Regions from separate parts of the Homo sapiens genome. Here region 2 is linked to region 1. Evidence: promoter capture Hi-C in human tissues and cell types (Jung and others, 2019). All regions are on one chromosome and are shown on one strand. Each heading gives the region's core, a stretch centred on a gene start or on the middle of the fragment in contact. The rest is flanking DNA. Distances are from core to core; before and after follow the strand shown. Region 1 holds the start of SLITRK2 (SLIT and NTRK like family member 2). Region 2 has its middle 210 kb from the start of MIR891A.

Region 1 (5,265 bases), core at 918-3,417:
TCCTTTCTCTCCGGGAAGGGCGGGGGTAGTTTATAAACTTAGGCACTAGGGCCACCTGTAGCTGGTGATCTGTGCATTATTTTCTTGAGCTTTCTCCCTTTCTCCTTCTTCTTCTTCTAAGAGCCTTGGACCAGGCATCAGAAGCCCCCTTACCCTCTAATTCTTGCTTGGCGTTTAGCAAAATACTTTCCTTCTGGAGACTCAAATTTTCCTTCTCCATAGAGAAGGGCAAACTTGAGATGAGCTCTGAGGCAGAGGGACAGCCCTGTGGATGGCCTCCCACCCTGTATTGCAATTGCATCATTAGATGGAAGCAGTCTGATGCAGTGGGAGCACAATTAAGCTCCCTTTCCTAGCAAAGGAGGCATTTGTTTCTATGTATTTCCAAAGGTTAAAAGCACATAGTTCCTAGAGCAATAAGATTTATTCATTCAGTCATTCATTCAACAAACATGTATTATGTCAATATTTAACTGAAGTAAAGACGTGAGAGCCGAACAAGACCTTAGAAGTCAGGTTCATTTTACAGATGAGGTCATTTCTTAACCAGGGAAAGTGCTGACTTACTCAAGAAACTACAAATAGAAACAAAACCCAGGGATTATGAGTCCCAGTCCATCATCTTTCCAAAAAGCACACTACTGCTTAATATGAATTAAAAATCTACTTAAACGTAAATAGCAGTGGTAGTGTTTTACTTAAAGGTATCCTTTTTATTAAAAAAAAATGTATTTGAAAGTGAAACATCAAATACTAGTTTCGGTTCTCAGATACAGTAATTTCCTTCAAGACATTGATGACGCTTTCAATATTCCTTGAGGACAGATTATTTTTGCGAAGAATTTCAGAGACAGGAGAGAGATTCAGAGAGAAAGGTGGAGGTGGTTGGGGGCTCATGAGATTCTTGAGACCTACAGAATCAAGGAAATTCATGGGTAATCTAACTGTGGGAAGCGACACTCGGACCCTAAGGAGGTCTTCGTTCCTGCCTGTCCTTGAGAGTCCACAGCTGCTTTCCAAAACGTAGTTACTAGGAACAAATCAGCCTGAAACGCGATAACCACTTTAAGTAAGTTTCATTTGGCCCCGTGTCTTCTGAAGAACTGCCGCAGCACTCCGCTAGGGAGAGCGGGCTTTTAAGGCTGTGGAAAGGTTCAGGGTGAACTGGGACCCCAAGGGAGGGAAAGGCGGTCATTAAAATAAGGAAAACGCTCCCTCTCCTTGCTGAGGCAAGGGAGGCTTAAAGACGAACTCCGTCGCCTGTCTCACTCGCATCTAACCGAGTAGAGCCTGGCTCAGGTCTCCAAGCCTTCCACAGGACACGGTGGGTGCCGGCGGGCTTACAGCCCACCTCCGTCCCGGCCGCCCATCAGGCCACGAGGGGGCTAAGAGGAGTCCGGGGAACCAGAGAGGGGGCACTGCTTGCCCGCAGCCTCTTCTTCTAAACACCCGCCGCCCGCAAGCCGGGTCGAATCCCATTTCCGAAGGGCGCTTCCGGGAGACCAGGTGTCTCCGAGCGTCCCCGATCGCCGGTAACTGGGCACCGGCCGCCAGCGCAGCCCTACCTTCCCTGCCCCTACCTGCTAGACGCCTGGTGCGGTGCCCGGCATGCGGACCTACAGCCGCGACGGCCACTCGGGCTGCCCTCGCCATGGGACTTGGGCACTGCAGGCCGACCGGAGGCTTCTAGCTCGCGCCGGGTGCGTGGGCCCTCCCTGGCCGCCTGTGCCACCCCGCTGCGCGAGGCGCGGAGCCCGACCACGCCCGCGCGGACGGTCCCGGGGTGAGGAATCTCCAGTGGGGATTGAGGGTAGAGGGCGGCCGCCAGCGAGCTGCCCTCCGCGGATGGCGCCCAGCCTCCCCACGCTGGTGCCCCTCGCAAGGAGAGGTGGCCGGGAAAGGCAACGGACTGAGGAAAGCCGGCTCACTGGCCGCGTCGCCACCGCGTCCCTGAGTGCTCAGAACTTACCGAGCGAGCGCGCCGCCCAGATCTTTTCCCGGAGGCGCCCGCAGCATCTGCGACTCGGGGAGGCAAAGGAGCCGGCACCGCCTCGGACTGGCGCAGCCCAGGAGCGAGAGCACCGCGGGGAGCGCGGGCGGCGCCCCCAGGGCAGGCAGATCCCCACCGAGCAGCTAGCCAACGGGCAACGCTTCTTGCAGGAAGGAGGGAGGGAGGCGAGAGGGAGGAGGGAAGTAAAGCGGGAGGGAGGAGAGGGGAAGAAGGGAGGGAGGAGGGAGGAGGGAGGGAGGAGGGAGGAGGGAGTGAGGAGGGAGGAGGGAGGGAGGAGGGAGGGAGGGATCGCGTCCCCCCTCTCCCTCACTTATCAATCACCCCACAGATCAAATATCCGGGCTGTGCACCCAGGACGGGGATGTAAGAGCCCACAAAGGAGCCGCTGCTCCATTTCTCTGACAAGCGCTGCGGAGCACTGCTCACGCCTCTCGGTCCCTCTTGCCTGGAACTCTGCCCAGCCCTTGCGGCTTCCACCCTGGGCTGCAGCTCGGGCTCGGTCAAGTGAAATAAGAATGGCACACGGTCGGTACCATGTCCAAGGGGAGACTAAGACTACTGGGTGGAAGTTAACGACAAGTGAAAGAGCAGTCAGCCATCCGAGCTGGACACCCTCCGGGACAGCTGCCTCCCCTAACTAGTAAGCGCCCAGTCTTTGGGAGTTCGCAGGCAGATATTTAAGAACCTCCTACGAGGATCGTAAACAAGGACTTTCAACATAAGATAGAGCTGAACTTGAGTTGTGCAAGTGTGTTAACAAAGCAAGCCCTTAGCAGCGTTCCAGTGCCCATTTTGATTCCCTTTATTCTTCACGACGACGTTGCCTGGATCTTCTAGAGCGTGATTTTTGCCATCCTCCCTTCCCTTTTCTCCTTTCTTCTTCCTCTTATTAGTAGTCCAGGTGGTTGTGATTCTATTAAAGGAAGGCGCTCTGTGAAAAGAGTCAGTGTAGTTCAAGAGGGAGGTGCGGTTTTTGCCAAGAGCATTGCGTTTCCCCTCAAGACTTGCTTTCTCTAGGGCCTCTCCTCTACTCTTCCAGAGTATTCGAGATAAAGTTGCAGTTTGATAAATTTATGCCAGGAGTAGGGAGTTCATTTGATGACACTAAGTCATTTTCCCCTCCATCCTGTAGGAGAACGTCATTAATTCAAGTCGTTGCCACCCCCTATCCTTTTCATGCCCGCTAGAGTCTGCAAAACCCCAAATCCTTCTTACTGTCGAAAAGCGTGATGGTGGAGAGCAGACGGGGAGGCGAGGAGAGAGGTGCAAAATTAGACGCAAAATTACCTCTCCAGCTAGTGGATCTGCATTGGAATTTGTCTGTTTCCATATTTCCCATGCCTTTCAACTCGTTCTCACAGCACTGACAACCACCTTTTTCTTGTCCTTCCCGTGGGAATCTTTTGTGCTTCTCCTGTCCTCTCTTCTTGGCTTTCTTTCATAATGGTTTTCTAAGGAGATTATGCTGGGCTTTTTAAAAAGAAAACTACTGGCAATCTTATATTATGAAGATGTACAGAGTTTGCTTTAATAATAGTCGGAAGAATTATAATCGTATCTTCGGAGTTGTAAGGGTCATTACTGTTCCTTTTATTTCATTCTTGAGAAAGCCTTTTTGAAATCTTCCTACCATTCAGATAAGCAACTTCGGAATAACATAGTTCTCACATAAGCACGTGGGCAGTGTATGTACGGTTATATATCCAGAAGCATTGCTCTTCTTTTTACAATATCTGTATTAGTGTAAACATCCAATGTGCTGTTTGCTACAGACTAAAAGCAGTGCACTGAGCACATCATATTATTAACTAAATGAGGTCAGTTAATACTGTTACTTCTGTCTTTACCGTATTTCTGACTGTGTCATCTTTTCATGTCGCTTTTAGTAGATGTTATAAACAACTGCAAAACACAGAGCTAAGAGGCCATTCCAATACAGAAATAATGAGACAGTCATGCTGAAAAACTCAGACAGTTTACTAAGAAGGGTGATGTGTCTGTAGCCAAAGGGAACATACAAAATAAGCAAAAACTTCTATACAGAGTAGAGAAGGAACATGGCATTAATGATGAAAAGTGATACTTTATTTAGATCCAGTAGTAACATGTAATAGATGGCATGCATCAATTTTAATTAGCCTTGTAAGCAAGTCTAACCTGTTCACCAGCCTTCGAAAAGCATTTAGCAGCCTGCCTTTCCACATGGGACCACACTGATAGTAAGACAAAATTAAAAAGAGCAGACTTTTCTTTTTGTCAGCATAAAATTTTCAAGTAGGTGGATAGCTGTGCTTTGAATGCACAGACACGAAAATTGATGAGCAATATAAAACTTTCTGAGAGGGTTTTGCATAGACAGTTATAATGGAGGAGAGTTTGAAGTCTGTGAAAAATTTAAATATGCCAATTTATTTGAAAGCTGCTTTATGCTGAATTTTCTAAAAGCTTCTGTGTTAGAGGAAAATTTCCAAATAGAATTGAATACTAGAGACACCATATTAATGTACTTCTGTTCATTAATAAAAATCACATTATTCTTCTTTATACTAGCACTGTAAATGTATCTTTATATCCATGTGCTGTTTTCTTTTTGAAAAACTTTTATTTTAGGTTCAGGTGTACGTGTGCAAGTTTGTTATATAGGTAAATTGCATGTGGTGGGGGTTTGGTTTACTGTAAGCTACTTTCTATTGTGAAGTTCGTGTTACTAAACAACATAGAGATCCCGATTGGAAAACTAGTGGAAAAACAGAGAAATAAAACTAAATCTTGCCTGGGTTTTTATAATTTCATTCTAAGGTTAGAAGAAAACCAGAAATTTCACCTGCGATGAGTGAGATAAAAAGCGCATATGTTTCCAGGATGATGTAAAGGATGTCCTATTACTGTGTAGTACGTAATTTACCTGAGAATGTTGCTTTTTCAACTTCTTCACACCTATCCAGAACTAGAAAGCTTTAAAACATATAAAAGAAGACAAAATGTGCTGCATTTTCAGTGAACATAGTTTCTTTCCAACCAAAGGTTTCAAAGAAGAGTGCCACAGAACAAATTCCTAAATAAAGAAACGCAACAAAGCGGACATGCCCTTAATATTAGTAATTATAGTTTACAGGATATTGTAGACTTTTGTTCCTGATGTTATTGAAAAGGTGGATATTTTTCAATTCAATTCAATTATTTGGATTATTTGGCAGGCATTTTGGCCTGATTGAAATAGTGCTGGGCCAAGACCCAGGGCAGTTTTTCTTTTA
Region 2 (5,265 bases), core at 1,177-3,676, 420 kb before region 1:
AAATTTTTTCTTGTATTATAAATTCAAGTCTAAAGAGTAAAATGCAATAAATACATTTCCGTGGCATAGTCACTGGGGAGACAGAGAGCCCTATAGGAAGGTACAGACTCCAATATTATTCTGAATAGTGTGGAGAAATAGCTGTCAGTCCTTTTCACATCTTGTTATCTTTTGGTCAGTGAGGCTCTTTGGTGTTGGAGCTGCTGCCTTAGTCTCCAGGGAGAAGGGCTCAAAGCTTATGGTGCAATGGGAGGTTTGCAGAGAATCTAGCTAGTCATCAGCAACCACTAGCTGCACGATGACTCAGTGCTCTTCTTTAACTAGATAAAACATTATTTTTTAATCCTTTGCCAAAACACATTTTTTAAATGCAGAGACCAGAAAAAAAATAAGTCAGCTTTTAATGTTTTTGCACGTTGCATATTATATTTCTGTCTAAAAGGAGGCTGCATGTTTGGACAGTGAAAAGGATGTGTGGAGTAAACAGCATCAGGTAGGGAAAACCTCAGGCAGTGATAAGATTTGAAAAATTTTTGGCAACCCAAAACAGTTCTCCAGGGCAAAGAGAAAAATTTAGAGGAGTTCCACCTTGGCCAAAATGGCCAGGTCCTTGCACCTCCAGTGTATCCAGTCATCGGCTAATGATTACATAGGAAGCGTGTGGCCCCACCTGGAAAGCTGAGGCATTTCCTCAAGGAGCTAATGGTTGTAGGCTGTCAGTTAGTTGCACTCCCTGCAGCTGAATTGCAGATTTTTTCCGTGGGGACATTCAGGTACACACCTTTATTGCTGCAACAGAGGTGATGGAGTCCAGGTGAGAAAGGTAAGACATAGAAAAGACTTCTGGGGGAGAGGGATAATGAGTATGTCAGGTAAATAAGTAGGATTTCTGGGTAGCGCTAAGGACTCACTTGAATTTAAATGGAAATCTGTCAGCATGATCCTTTGCTTTTCTCAATTTGTGTTCACATACTGCAATAGATAAGTAGGGCTGGATTTACCAGGGTTGGGATTTTGCTATCTGAGAACAACAAAGAGCAATGTCTGTAGAGTCCATTCAGTTCCCAAATTCTACAATTTTTTTGTGTATGAAGGTGACCTGACTTTCACCCCAGTAGCTCCCATATTAATTCCAGAGACTGGCAAACAGGCCATGGGCCTAATCTAGCCTAAATGTTTTTGTCAATAAAGCTTTATTGCTCAGAAATCCCATTACTGGGTATATAACCAAAGGAAAATAAGTCATTTTACAAAATGCCACATGCATGCATGTGTTCATCACAGCACTGTTAACCATAGTAAAGATATGGAATCCACCTTGGTGTCCATCAGTGGAGGATGGATTAAGAAAACGTGGTACATATACATCATGGAACACTACACAGCAATAAAAAGGAATGAAATCATGTCATTTGCAGCAACAAGAAGGCAGCTGGAGGCCATTATCCTAAGTGAATTAATGCAGAAACAGAAGACCAAACACTGCATGTTCTCACTTATAAGTGGGAACTAGATATTGATTATACATGGACACAACGATGGGAACAATAAACACCGGGGACTATTAAAGGGGATAGGGAGGGAGGAGGGCAAGGGTTGAAAAACTATGCTGACTACCTGGGTGATGGGATAAGTCATACCCCAAACGCCAGCATCACACAATATACCCATGTAACAGACCTGCACATATAACCTCTGAATCTAAAAGAAAAGTTGAAATTATAAATTAATTAAATAAATAAATACAGTTTTATTGGAACATGGCCATACCCACTCATTTACATATTGTCTATTGCTTTCTTTTCATGCTACAAAGGCAGAGTTGAGGGTTTGCAACAAAGACTAGAGAGATCAAAAGGCCTAAAATATGGACTATATGGTTCTTTACAAAGTTTGTCTCTGGATTAGGCTAATTTATCTGCCTTCCTCTGTGGATCCCTCACAAAACTGTAGCGTCAAAGATCATAAGTACCTGGTGTAGACGAGGGGTATTCTAGGAAAATGGGCATGCGAGCAGGTTTTACCCCTGCTAGACCCGTCAGCCCTTAGCAAATCATTAACACTAAGGTGTACACAAATATATTTTTGTTGAATTAATCAATGTTAAATATCATCTCATCTTTGCATTAATTCTACAAATATCCAGGCCACTGTTAGTTATAAGGGCTGGAGATACAGCATGTTATCATTTGTACCTGATGTTTTTTCACAAATATGTATTTTTATCTTATTTTCCAAGTGAAAATACCACTGCTTGTCCAACATATATTACCATCTTATCTGTAAGTAATGACCAATGAATAATTTTGTATTAAAATGATACACAAGACAATTTTTTGGATAAGCAGAACCAGAATTCTAAAATTCTGCTGAAATTTTTATAGTATGTCTATTTGACACAGAGCTAGACAAAGTCTATAAACAACTCCTATTTCTAGTTCCAGTCATTGCTGGCATTAGCCATGTTTCCTAGCATCCATTCATCAAGCATTTAATCAGTTAGTCTCTCAGGTGTGAAGTTCGGGAAATGATGCGGCATTCGCAGTACACAGCCCATATCAGGTTGCAAAAAAGAAAGCTGAGGCTGAAGGATCCTGCTCTGTGTACCATTCAGATGAAAGAAGTTGGTTTAGAACATATAGGAAGGTCTGGAGATTGGAGAGGGAAAAAAACTATGACTTGGGGAAATGGAGAAGTCCAGAGGTTGTTGTGGGAAGAGGATAAAAGATAATAAAACATGAAGGACAATGGTGGAATTTGAGAGGAACAGATTGCTCAGAGGACCAGGTAATGGTTACCTAGAGCTGAGGGATAAATTTCCCAAGTACAGGATCAAATATTAGCATGGCAGGTGATCCAAGTGCTCTGAACTCTTGGGCACAGGAGGAGTCTCTGTTTCCTCTACCAGAAGAAAAACAAGAAGATAACATGTTAGTGACGCTGGACAGAGCTAGAATCTTCCTATGGCATATTTGCATTTCATTTGTAATCTGCAGAAATGATAGTTATTGTAGAGTGTCTATTCATTAAAGCTCTTTCTACAACTTTGTGTGCATTGTTGCTATGCAGGACAAAAAGGGTGCTCAGCTGCTGTTATGGAATGAATTGTGCTCACCCTCCCCTCCAAAAAAAACCTCATATGTGATGCCCCAAATCCCAATGTGGCTGTATTTGGAAATAGAATCTTTATGGAGATAGTTTATGTTAAATGAGATCAGAAGACTGGGGTGTTAATACAATAGAACTCATGTCTTTATAAGAAGAAGAAGGGACACTAGAGATTTCTTTCACTCCTCTCTCTTTCTCTTTCTCTTTCTCTCTCTCTCTGTCTCTCTCTCTCTCTCTCGCCTTCTCTGCACCTGCACCAAAGAAGAGGCCATGTGAGAACATCTATAAACCAGGAAGAGAGGCCTTATTAGGAACTGAATCAACCAATGACTCCTTCTGGGAATTCTAGTCTCCAGAAATGAGAGAAAATAAATGTCTGTTGTCTAGGCCACCCCTCTAATATGTGGTGTTTTGTTACGGCAGCCCAAGCAGACTCACATAGATATCCTGTATCTTCTAGATAGGGTTTAATGCCAACTAAAGCCAGACACATACAGAAAAGTAAGGCTACATTCCTGTGGTCAGGGATAACTATGTATTTATGGTTGTCTTTTCATGGATGTCCCTGCATCCAATCCATCCTGTACACTGAAGCTGAAAAGGTGTTTTTCTAAACTGTGTCTCACTCACACATCGTCAATGGCTACCACCTATAGAATAATAAATAGAAGACAAGTCCCATATGCCTTCAGCTGCCATATAAGGTTCTCAATAATTCTGTTCCAACTTGAATTTTTGGGGCTGCCACCCAGCCCTCTTTGAAGCCACACAGCTTCAACTTCAGCTATAGCTCTTGCACTTTCTCAATGTGTCATGCTCTTGTATGCTTGAGTGACTGAGTCATTACCCTGCCTAGAGTGTCTTCTCACACATCAAGCCTCTGAAACTCAAGTACCTGCCACACCCCTCTTCTCCTCCCAGGGCCAACTCAAATGTCACACGCTCTCCGTCAATCTCTCATATCTCAGGTGGAACTAATTCTTCCCTCATTTCTGTCCCTACATTTATTTCACTTTTTAAATACTTGCCACTTTAAATTGCAGTTACATTTTAGAGTGTCCACCCTCCTTCCCAAATAGTGAGCTCTTCAAAGTAGAGAACATGTCTTACTCATCTCAGAGAGAACAATAACAGCCCAATAAAAGAAGCTGAATAACTGTTGAACAAACTTACATTCAAGAAGATCACTGTGAAACAGCAATGAGACCCCTCAGGAATAGCTAAACGAATAACTTGCCAGCACACTGACGCGAGATTCCATTCTCTAGCCAAACTACATAGTTATCACCAAGAGCATTAAACTGGTAGGAAATCACATTTTTATGAAAAGTAAAGTCCAATATTCTTGTAGATGAGGAGGAGGAATAAGACTAAAAAAGAAGTGAGTACCAATACTTGTGAATTTTAAAAAGGCACACTGGCCCAATGGTTTCCTTATTTGTAAAATCAGAGCTGTAGATGAGATGACTTCTAAGTGCCTCCCAAATCCTAAATTCCCTTGTTGCGTGATTTGCCAGATAGGCAAGACAACACTTATGTCTACAGCCATGGAGTCATAATTTTGCAATTATTGTGTGCTGAAGAAATCAGCTCCTCATAATAACCAGAGAGATGGTTAACTGGAAAGAACGTGGTTAAAAATATGCTTTAAAATAAAATGAAAGACCCAGAACAGTACTCAATTATGCAGCTGCCTGCCTGGGCTGCCTCCCTGGACCCAACAAGCCTTCAGATTTAACGACTGGGGTTACCTGGGAGCATTTCCCACATGTTTAAATATCAGTAAGCCTGACAGGCCACTGCTTCTTGAGGCAGAGGGACCAATGCAAAATAAGCATCAGATTTCAAATGCAAAACCAAAGCACTGGTTTTAAAAAAATATAAGCTAAATAGTGTGCCTTTCAGACAGTAGACAAGTCTTATCCAGATAGTTCACCCAATTTAAATAAATCTACTTTGGAACCTCAACTACGCTGTCCAGTTAAACTGCTAATTGCTTAGCTACTTCACATTAATGGTATAGACCCAATTCAGATACATTTTCATGCCAGGGCTATCATCATCTAAGTTGTGTCTGGACAAGTTATTAAGAACAGAATATACAAGTATAAGGTGGGAGGAACCTTAGAGATCATATTCATTTTACAGATGAAAAAA

Evidence for each region. Contacts are between HindIII fragments. The study calls those that stand out against the background at their distance.
Region 2: a fragment that was not itself captured here is called in contact with the fragment with the promoter of SLITRK2 in region 1 in 1 of the 25 tissues and cell types used here (small bowel).

The regions. Positions count from the first base shown.
Region 1 is chrX:145,814,731-145,819,995 of GRCh38, reverse strand. SLITRK2 (SLIT and NTRK like family member 2) reads right to left here and starts at 2,167. Exons shown (of 5, transcript NM_032539.5): 1 at 1,970-2,167. The HindIII fragment of the contact is 9,514 bases long and covers 1-4,711 here.
Region 2 is chrX:146,237,069-146,242,333 of GRCh38, reverse strand. No RefSeq gene overlaps it. Among named protein-coding and RNA genes, the nearest start is that of MIR891A, 210 kb to the right of the region's middle. The HindIII fragment of the contact is 3,426 bases long and covers 714-4,139 here.